Linked DNA regions of Homo sapiens: regions 1 and 2 are each linked to region 3. Evidence: promoter capture Hi-C in 16 types of primary human blood cells and fetal thymus (Javierre and others, 2016). All regions are on one chromosome and are shown on one strand. Each heading gives the region's core, a stretch centred on a gene start or on the middle of the fragment in contact. The rest is flanking DNA. Distances are from core to core; before and after follow the strand shown. Region 1 overlaps LINC-PINT (long intergenic non-protein coding RNA, p53 induced transcript). Region 2 overlaps LINC-PINT (long intergenic non-protein coding RNA, p53 induced transcript). Region 3 holds the start of MKLN1-AS (MKLN1 antisense RNA).

The links. The method cuts DNA at HindIII sites, captures the fragments that hold promoters and counts their contacts. A CHiCAGO score of 5 or more calls a contact.
Region 1: a contact is called between a fragment that was not itself captured here and the fragment with the promoter of MKLN1-AS in region 3, in 6 of 17 cell types (neutrophils, monocytes, total CD8 T cells and 3 more). The highest score is 9.4, in neutrophils.
Region 2: a fragment that was not itself captured here is called in contact with the fragment with the promoter of MKLN1-AS in region 3 in 2 of 17 cell types (neutrophils and total CD8 T cells); the score reaches 7.4 in neutrophils.

The regions. Positions count from the first base shown.
Region 1 is chr7:131,009,279-131,012,367 of GRCh38, forward strand. All of the region lies in intron 3 of LINC-PINT (long intergenic non-protein coding RNA, p53 induced transcript), which reads right to left. Among named protein-coding and RNA genes, the nearest start is that of LINC00513, 97 kb to the left of the region's middle. RefSeq lists enhancers at 115-164, 195-324. The HindIII fragment of the contact is 2,245 bases long and covers 499-2,743 here.
Region 2 is chr7:131,026,158-131,029,312 of GRCh38, forward strand. The region is part of intron 3 of LINC-PINT (long intergenic non-protein coding RNA, p53 induced transcript); the gene reads right to left. Among named protein-coding and RNA genes, the nearest start is that of LINC-PINT, 82 kb to the right of the region's middle. RefSeq lists an enhancer at 1,283-1,422. The HindIII fragment of the contact is 1,771 bases long and covers 776-2,546 here.
Region 3 is chr7:131,326,239-131,329,760 of GRCh38, forward strand. It overlaps MKLN1-AS (MKLN1 antisense RNA), which reads right to left and starts at 1,541. Exons shown (of 6, transcript NR_125364.1): 1 at 1,377-1,541; 2 at 568-697. It overlaps MKLN1 (muskelin 1), which reads left to right and starts at 1,638. Exons shown (of 18, transcript NM_013255.5): 1 at 1,638-1,759. The coding sequence starts at 1,662. RefSeq lists enhancers at 1,403-1,979, 1,674-1,973, 1,980-2,556 and a silencer at 1,464-1,623. The HindIII fragment of the contact is 3,998 bases long and covers 1-3,522 here.

The sequences.
Region 1 (3,089 bases), core at 371-2,870, 320 kb before region 3:
GCCCTCATGAGTCACTCTGGTAGCATAAATCAGAGAAAAACTATCTGACTCAAATTACAGTTACTGTAAAAGTTCATTATTACTTACTAAAAGCCCTCAGGTCTACAGCCATTGGGGGGTGGGGGGGGGGAAGCCTCCTATTTTTAGAAATAAGACTTATTTTCTCATCTTCTGCATGTTTGGTTTAATTTAAACTTATTCTTGGAGTTTCAATAGACATTGATGGCTATGGTCCAGTTGCTGAGGCAAATCTCTCTTTAACTCTATGGGAGGTGAGAGGCTCCAACGGGGACCAGACTTTGGAAACTGCACACCATCAAGGGTTTGCCATTAGAGGACTTCTCTTGTCTAACAGAAACAGGGCAATGCTACAACCTTGTGATTCTTTTCCTTCTTCTAGGCTATCAGGAAGAAAACTGAATATCCTTACATTGTGAGGTCAGATGTATGGCTTTCATTCTGAATGCAGTAACTTCAAATGTAGACACGTGAACAGAAAGCTTTGTAACAGAAAAACAGCATTGTTTCGTTAGATGACTATAGATAGTATTTCATAAAATACAAGAAAAACACTCAAAATTAGCTCCAAAAAATGTATGAAAGGTGATACTCTGATATTTAATAAAACTGAACCTCTCACAACAATAAAATGATCCAATTTCATATACCAATCAATAAGCAAGGGTCTACTAACTTCACCAAGAAAGAGAAAAAAACCTAAGTTAATGCAAAATAATTTGGATCTTAAGGACGTCAATAACATGGGCCTTGCAGAAAGTTCCAAAAAACATGCTTTCATACCTTTAACTCTATGAAAAACAAACAAGCGTTACCTCCTGCAGCTAATGAGCACTGACAGGCTCAAGGTAGTCGCCATGCTATGAAATGTGGCAATAGCTACAATGTCATCTGTTTAGTTGTTCATCAGTTCATTGCTTAGGAGCCACTCAGAAGCAGCTGGGCGCAGTGGCTCATGCTTGTAATCCCAACACTTTGGGAGGCCGAGGCAGAAGGACAGCTTGAGTCCAGGACTTGGAGATCAGCCTGAACAACACAGAGAGACCCTGTCGCTACCAATAAAAAAAATTAGGCGGTCGTGGTGGTGCACACCTGTGGGAATTTGCTGTGCTTGTGGCCAATTAAGTGTTCCACTCTGAGGACAAAAATGAATGAACCTGGGAGTCTAAGATGGGAGGATCGCTTGAACCTGGGAGGTCGAGGTTACAGTGAGCCGTGATTGCACCACCGCACTTCCTACATTCTTTTGCAATAGGAGCCTATTTTAAGTCATTCTTAGACACACAAATAAGTTAATTTTGGGGGGCAGTCTTGATCTGGATTCTTGCTTTCCTCTGCAGCAGTCCTATTATTAAGCACCATCTATACCCAGGGCACTTTCTTTTGCTCATTTTACCCATCCCAAACCTTGGCAGGAAATCCAACAGCAATGCTTTCATTCTTATCCCATCCTAATCTCAAGATATCAGTATGAAAGTCTTGAAAGTAAGGAACTAACTCAAGTAATTTCCACTTCAGATTGACTAATGGCACACTGAATGGCTCCAGCATACTCACTTACTGGCCTCTGGCAAGTGACTTAACCTTCCTTAGTTTCTTCAACCAGCAAATGAGAAGGCAGAACTAGATGACCTCAAAGGGCCTCTCAAGTATCAAAGTTTTGCTTCTGTGAAATACGTATGAGCAAGCACACTCAAGTGTAGACAATATAGATTGGCAAATAAAAGCAAGTAGGACAGCAAGAAAAGTCCCAGACTCTCAGATTCAAATCTAGCGTCTTCTCAGGAACTCAACCTACTCACACAACTATTTCCGAGAGCACTGTTAACTGCTTGTCAGAAAATGCACGTAGTAGTTCCACGGGTCATCACATTAAAAAAAAAAAGATTTGATTTCCATGTTTAAGTCAGTTTCAGAAACTGGGTTAAATAAAGTTAAACAAATTTCTCAACATCCTAGACTTTTACAGTGCTAAGAGGGCATGTGAGTTGCTAGGAGAGGTATTACAACAGAGCATTTTCCCAAACTTAGTTGCCACAGCATCCTTTTTCATAGGGCAAATCCTGCAGATCTTGTGTTCCCGGGAACAACTGGGAGTTTGCTGTGCTTGTGGCCAATTAAGTGTTCCACTCTGAGGACAAAAATGAATGGACTTGAAGGGCCACTCAGGGCCCCACCAGAAGGAGCCTTGGCTGCAGATCAAGACCCTCGACTCCACTGCAGGTTCTGCTGCCAGCTACTAGTTTGCACTGGGCCCCATTTAGCCACCTCCCCAGACCTGCTGGGCCCCACTGGCCTTCCAGGCATCCGCTGCCAGCTTCCTTCCCCAACACCCAGCCTCCCAGGCCCCAGCAGCACAGCACGGGGCCATCCTAGGTCTCTGTTCTCCTCTGACTAAACTTTGCAGAAACACTGGCTGCAGTGGCTGCTCCCATGTCACAATCCGAACAATTTATGGCCTTAATTCCACTATCATCCTAATTTCTACATAATCATGTAATAAATATTGGTAACATTTTGGAATTATTGCATAGAGAATTCTAAAAAAAAAAAAAAAAAAATTCCTAATTGTCTTGAAATGTTCTCCAATGTAGATATAACTAAAGAAAATGAACCACAGTCTCTCTTCCAACTATTTTCTTTTCACAGAACTCTCCTAATTAGCGAACTACAATTAATACTAGAAATTAGAGGAACCACGTGGGATTCTTTGAAACAAAAAAAAAGCTTTTCTGATAAGTATTATTGACTGAAATACAGTTAACATGTTTGTCACTTTCAAAAAGCCACAAATGAATTTCTCTGAAAAACCCAACGTCTTTATAAAAAAAAAAAAAAAAAATTCCACAAAATTGGGGCTCTGCCAAAACGTGAATGTTGCAAAACCATGTGTCACATGCCCTCCTTCAGTTTCATGTTAATCACTACAGCAAGGATTAAACTTTTGGAGACTGGAATTCAGAAAGGTCAGACAGGGATTCAAATGCTGTCCTAGCTGGCTGGGAAGTACTGAGGCAAGTTACTTAATTTTTCTTTAATCCCAGTCCCGTAAGCCATTAAAGGAAAACAGA
Region 2 (3,155 bases), core at 411-2,910, 300 kb before region 3:
AGTCTGTGTTAAAGTCTGGGAGTGGTAGTGTTTCACAGAGGAAGAAAAATGTTTCTCATATCCTTCAGGTCACCTGAGTAGAAACCTATATAAAAAGGGTGAGTGTGAAGAGTTAAGAGGAAAACCTTTAGCAAACTGAGGTTGTTTCTACTTGCTAAAAGGGTCTCTCATTTCTATTCATGAATGGCCTTTCTACGCTTTCTCCTGAGCCACAGAAGAGGACATTTCAGCACAATCTAAGGTAGACTGAAACAAGTAAAACATCTGGATAAACTCCCCCATGAACACTGAAAAAAGAAACATGACTAATAAGCTCTCTTCTCCACATGCTGGAGATTCTACTGATGGTAACACATTCAGATACAAACACGTGAACCAATAATAACCAACCTCACTGCTAAAGCAGTCACTTGAAGCGATAACCTCACTTCTGCTTTCCCAAATAGGTGAGTATAAAATATATACATATATATATGAACATTCCCTTCCAAGACAGAGCATTAAAAAGATAAAGCAACACACACACATACACACACACACGCACACACACACCCCCCTTAATAACAGTGTGTGTCCTTTAATTAAATGTTGGCCTTTTTAATTTACTTATTTTAAGTTGTTGTTTCTGTGATCTCAATCTGACAAGGATTGCATTTGAGGATTAAAATTGCCGAGCACATACCTTTTTAGTTCCTCATCTTTTAATTACTACATAAGTGGTTGCCTAGGAAACCTCCAGACCGAATGATGAAACTCAAATGAATTCTCCTTTCTAAGCTTGCAGGTTTGACTCACTACCTTTGCTCCCCAAAAACTAAGTCCTCCGGAATTATTAAAGCCAGATATTTTTGCAACCTGGATGACATGCGAAAAAAAACATAAGAGGTGAATAATTATTTATTCTGAATACAGGTTTCTTAGGGAAATAAAAGTTAAAAAGGCCAAGTCCCTACTCACAGCAAATTCAGAAGAGAAATGCATGTCTTCAAATATACCCATACTATCTGTTACCAGGTAATTGTGGAGTGTTATTTTATGGCAGTATGTTAACATGGTAGTGATTAAACATTATAATGAAAGACAATAGAGAAGAACCTGGGAAAGCAGACCATGGAGACACCAAAGCAAAATAATGTCAGAGGGGGTGCAACCCCCCAATCACTGCAGAAATCACCCCTAGCTCCGCCCCCAGCTCCGCCCCCAGCTCTGGTTCCCTGTCCTTTCTTACAATCTGGCTCTACCTCTGCCCAGAATGACATGACATCATCACTGAACAGTGGCAAGAAAACATAGATCTATTTTGCTGTATGCCAAGTAAACAGGGCTGATCACCATACACAAATATGTATGCAACTTAGCATAAACGCATCTCAGAAGATTCTGTTTTAACCACAGCAGATGCACTGAAGTAGGCTCATCTGGCGGCCCTCGGAGGAAGGACCGAGTGTTGCATAATTCCAGCAAATGAGAGCAGAAATACTGAGAACAGCCAGAACACCCAGGCCAGATGGTACTGTGGTTCTGAAGCAGTGCCTGAGGCTAGAGACGTGAGCAGGCCCGGGAAAGACAGAGATGGGGCAAGTGGGCTCAGTGGCTGGAGGCAGAGTACACTCAGCAGAAGGCCTTTGACTACTTTCTCTCAGCCCTGATCTCAAAGTCTGGCTGCTTCCTCTAACATCCTTGCATCATGATCTTACCATCATTTACTTTAAATTTAAAAATTTTGAACCAACTCTTCTGGAGGAAAAGCAACAACCAATTTCCACCTCCATCCCCCCAGCTATGCTTCTGCCTCGGGGTAGAGGAGTTTGAGTAGGAGAGGAAAAGACAGATCAGAACTCAAGGCTCTCAGGCTGGGCACGGTGTGGCTCTTGCCTGTATTCCCAGCACTTTGAGAGGCCAAGGCAGGTGGATCACTTGAGGTCAGGACTTTGAGACCAGCCTGGCTAACATGGTGAAATACTGTCTCTACTAAAAATACAAAAATTAGCTGGGCATGGTGGGATGCGCCTGTAATCCCAGCTATTTGGGAGGCTGAGGCAGGAGAATTGCTTGAACCCAGGAGGCGGAGGTTGCAGTGAGCCGAGATTGTGCCACTGCACTCAATCAAGCCTAGGCAACAGAGCAAGACTCCATCTCAAAAAAAAGACAAAAAACAAAAAACAAAAAAACTCAAAGCCCTCATCATTTCTCCCCAGGATAACTAAACTTTTCTGCCAACTACTATTCCCACTGCTCCAACCTCACACTGCAGCTAATCCACTCCCTACAAGGATGGTCGAGATTTTCCTCCACTTAAATGAATTCCCTCCCTGGCTTCCACACTGCCCTCAGGATGAAAACCCAAGTTCCTCTCAGCTTAGTTTAGAAAGCTCTTCACCAGGTAGGTCCTTGAAAAACTTGATTGCATTCCACTGTAATCTCAAAATTGTCAAAGAAAAACTGTTCCGTACCTGGTCTGGAATAGAACCAAGTGGTCTGCTAGAAAATTCACAGTATCCTACTAGGAAGAAATGAACAGCATTCCAGGGAAAAAAAAAAAAAAAAGCTTGCTTTTTTTCTAATGCAATTTCCTAAATGAACTTTAAGGAAATTAAGACTTGCTCTGGGCAACTCATTACCATCTACCCGGCTGACTGTCAACTATCAGAGTGTAGAGGTTTTTAACCAGACATTCGTTTCAATGATGATATTTAATCACTTTCTTCCCTTAATGTCCCTACCAAGAGCGAATCATTGAATGTGCCTACTGCAGGACTCTCTCCTTGCATTGCAAAGCTAAAACAAACTGTTGGCACATGCTCAAAATTAAACTGTCCGAAAAGTTTTAACAAATGCTACCTAACCTAAAGCAGGTCCTTTTACCCTGCAGTCCCCAGGACACTTTTTGGTCTCTGGCCTCCTTGGGCCTTCCAATACTCAGCAACCTCCTCCAGGTAGCACCCACCAGGGCTGACACTTTCCCTCACTCTCTGCCCCAACCCCCCAATGGCAACTCCCATCTTCTCTGGTTAACCTCTATTCATCTCCAAAGTCCATGTCAATCATAGGTCAAATGTTAGTTCCTCCAGGAGAACTTGCCAAGAGGCTGGACCCAAGTCCTTCCAGATGCTTCAGTATCAGAGCTGTTACTGTACTGCACTGCATTTATCTCA
Region 3 (3,522 bases), core at 291-2,790:
GGCAGCTCCCGACCCAAGTCACTACAGTTACAGCATTCCCTTAAGGAACACATGCTTTTCCAACCTGCTGCAACACAGAAAGCACATGTAATTTTTTATTTTATTGTATTTTATTTGTTTTTCTGAGACAGAATTTCACTCTGTTGCCCAGGCTGGAGTGCAGTGGTGTGATCTTGGCTCACTGCAACCTCTGCCTCCTGGGTTCAAGTGATTCTTGTGCCTCGGCCTCCCAAGTAGCTGAGATTATAGGTGTATGTCACCACACGCAGCTAACTTTTGTATTTTTAGTAGAGACGGGGTTTCACCATGTTGGCCACGCTGGTTTCGAACTCCTGACCTCAGGTGATCCACCCACCTCAGCCTCCCAACGTGCTGGGATTACAGGTGTGAGCCACCGTGCCGGGCCTGGCCTTTCTATCTGGCTTTTTTGATTTGATATCCTAGTAGAGCCCACTATTAAAATTTCCATCTATAGAAACAGGAAGTCAGGAAAGGACTGGAGGGAATTTCGGCAGGTTAATGATTACAACGGGAAGAGAATACAATTATTGAGGTGTTTTGACTCACTTGGTCATTTCCTGAGAAACTCTTTGCTTGAATTTTTCCACTCTTCAGGTGAAGATGATGACACTGTCCAGGCTTTCAGGAGTCCAACCTCTTAGACAATAAGCGACATACTCTTTGGTAACTGCAGTGGCTAAGCCAAGGAATAAATATGCATAACTACAACAAACAGGTACTTGATGAGAACGTTATCTAGAGCTGCCAGATAATTTAGACCAAGTGCACCTTTTGTTGTAAGAAGCTGGTATGATGTCCACATAGTTTTCAGGGCTGCTGTTCCCTCTAAGAAGAAGGAATAGTCTTTTTCCTGAACTACTCTCTCTCTGAACTTTTAGGCTACAATTATGTCAGTTCAAAGTGGGCAGATTTGCCAACTGAAAAAATGATGACACGCAGCTTCCCAACTCTGTAAGGACTTTTCAGGTCTGTGGGTGAACGTCATTCCCGAGCAAACCAATGCCACAAGATTAGTAGGATGCGGCTCACAAGAAATGTTTACAATGAAGGGCATCACAGACTGCAAACCAAACAGGGTAGGAGGACACGGGACCATTTCCTTTTCCTGTCTCCATCTGACTCTGGAAGGCGGGGACAAGACATTTAAAACCAGGACCACTCCAGGAGGACAGCACATTAGCTACTGCCCTCCAGCTCCCTTCAGTGTTGTTTCCGTAAAGGACTTATAAACTGGCGAGGGCGGTGGCTTCCAAAAGCGCACAGGCGTCCCTTTTCCAACTTGGTCTTCTTATTTTCCCTTCCTGCTCCATAACTACAACGTGTTTCTGTTCGTAATCATCTCGGCTTTTCCTTACCTCTGCTTGTAAGAAAAGTCCTTTGCGCCATTCCCCTCCAAGCCCCAGGGAAGGGCCTGGAAAGCGCTTACACCTCAGACCCAGTGTCGGTCAGCCGTCAAGGAGCGAGCGACGTGGGAAACCCTGAGATAGGACATTGGCCCGGCGCTGGGCTCGGGTAACGATGCGGGGCGGGGAGCGCGGGCGGCCGGGGAGGGCGGCGGCCCCTTTAAGAGCAGGCCACGCCCCCTCCCCTCCTCCCGTTCGCTGCCAGCGGTCGGTGGCGGCCGCTACGGTGCTGACAAGATGGCGGCTGGCGGAGCTGTCGCTGCGGCGCCCGAGTGCCGGCTTCTCCCCTACGCGCTACACAAGTGGAGCTCCTTTTCCTCCACCTACCTTCCCGAGTAAGTGCCGGGCCTTGAGCTCGTGCTGCCCCACCCTTCCGCGTCAGCACGGTTGGGCCAGGGGTGCAATGGAGGGCAGCCGAGCCGAGAGGCCCAGGCGGGGCCTGCTGAGGGGGACGTGCGGCCTCCGGAGTCTTAGTTCAGCTGCTGAGAGCGTTGCTCGGCCTCGCTCGGGAAGGGGTTAGGGTCCGGAGAGCGAGCCCAGGGAGAAGGGGCGAGGTGTGTGGCGGATCCGGGGCGCGCACAGGAGAACCGGAAGCCCAGCGGTTCTGCGCTTGGGATTTGGGGGTTGAGGTTGAGGAGGGCTTGGGGGGCGGACGGCTCTGGGGCAGGAATCGGAGTTGGCGGGGCCCTGCCCGCGGGCAAACTACCCCGAATGTCTGAGGTCGTCCGAGGTGGTCGGCGTCGGGGGACAGTTCAGTCGATTGCTGCCGGGACAAAGTGTAAAGCCGAGGAGTGTCTATTCCAGAGTGGGGTCATTAAAAGTGATTAGCTCTAGAGTAGTGTTAAAAGTCACGGAAGGCTGAAAAGTTGTGGAATCCATCTGAATCCTAGCAGGCGGGGAGAACTTGTAGGATTGGCAGACGTTGTCTTTAATGCCTGGAAGTTCTGAAAAAGATAGGGAGTGGGAAGGAGGGACGTTACCGAAGAATTTCAGTATTACGGCTCATTAGAAGATGGGTTTGTATGGACACAGACACGTTTCCCAGTCCGGAAACTCAAACATAGAAACATCTGGCTTTAATGAATTTGATTTTCAACACCGGCTTTGTCTTGATCCCTGATTTAGGTGTTAAAAAAATTCAGTTGCATTGTTAGGTTTTTGTTGGTGGTGTTTTTTTCTCTAGCAAATTCCTTCTGAAATGCTGAAAATACTCTTACATAGTATCTTATTTATCTTTGGCTTATCTTTGAAAGGAGGAGCAGATCTAACTCCAATTTTACATGCTAGTGGAGGAACTGGCTTAGTAAAGGGTTAAGATCTGTGCAGATCCTGAAGAAAAGTGCTAGTTGTCCCTCTAACCATCTCACAGGACCGAAACGATTTTATGAACGAAACAAATTAATGAATAATATATTTTACTGAGTATTTTACTAAACAAAAAAGTGACTAGATCTGTGAAGCATACTCAAGTAAGTTTTCCATCTGTATTTGAGAAATTCTTCACATTTATCCAAATTTGATTTCACTGGTTATATCAATGAAGAATCTCAAAATGGAGCTGCAACTGGAAGAATCTGTCATGACTGCCAGCCTCCCATTTTATTCACCAGGTCAAGGGTTGGCATTCAGTAGGATCTGGCCCAATGAAGGGTGCCAAGTGACCTGTGGTTTGATCTGGCCTGCGTAGCCTATTCATGGCCATATCCCTGATTGATGCTGAAACCCAACTTTGAATTTGAGAGTGAGCCAGATAAACAGTCCAGCCATGTAGTTGGAGTTGAAATGTGGCCCTATGTACTTGACCTCTGATATTCTGGGCTATCTTGTTCTTGGATCTGAAGTTATTCAGCTTTTTTCTATACCCAGGCTAGGATTATGGACAGTTGGGAATTGGTGTGGCATTGTTTGATCTAACTGTAGAGACATTTTTCTGGTCTTGAATTAGCGTATTTCCAGGACGTCACTCCTTAAATTTTTGATGTAGGCCTGAGGCTTGGATAACACAAGTACCATCCGCGTTATCTGTTGTATAGACATTTTAAGAAAGTACATTTCAAGCAGGAAATGATTTAGTGGGATGGCAACTTTAATCTTTTGT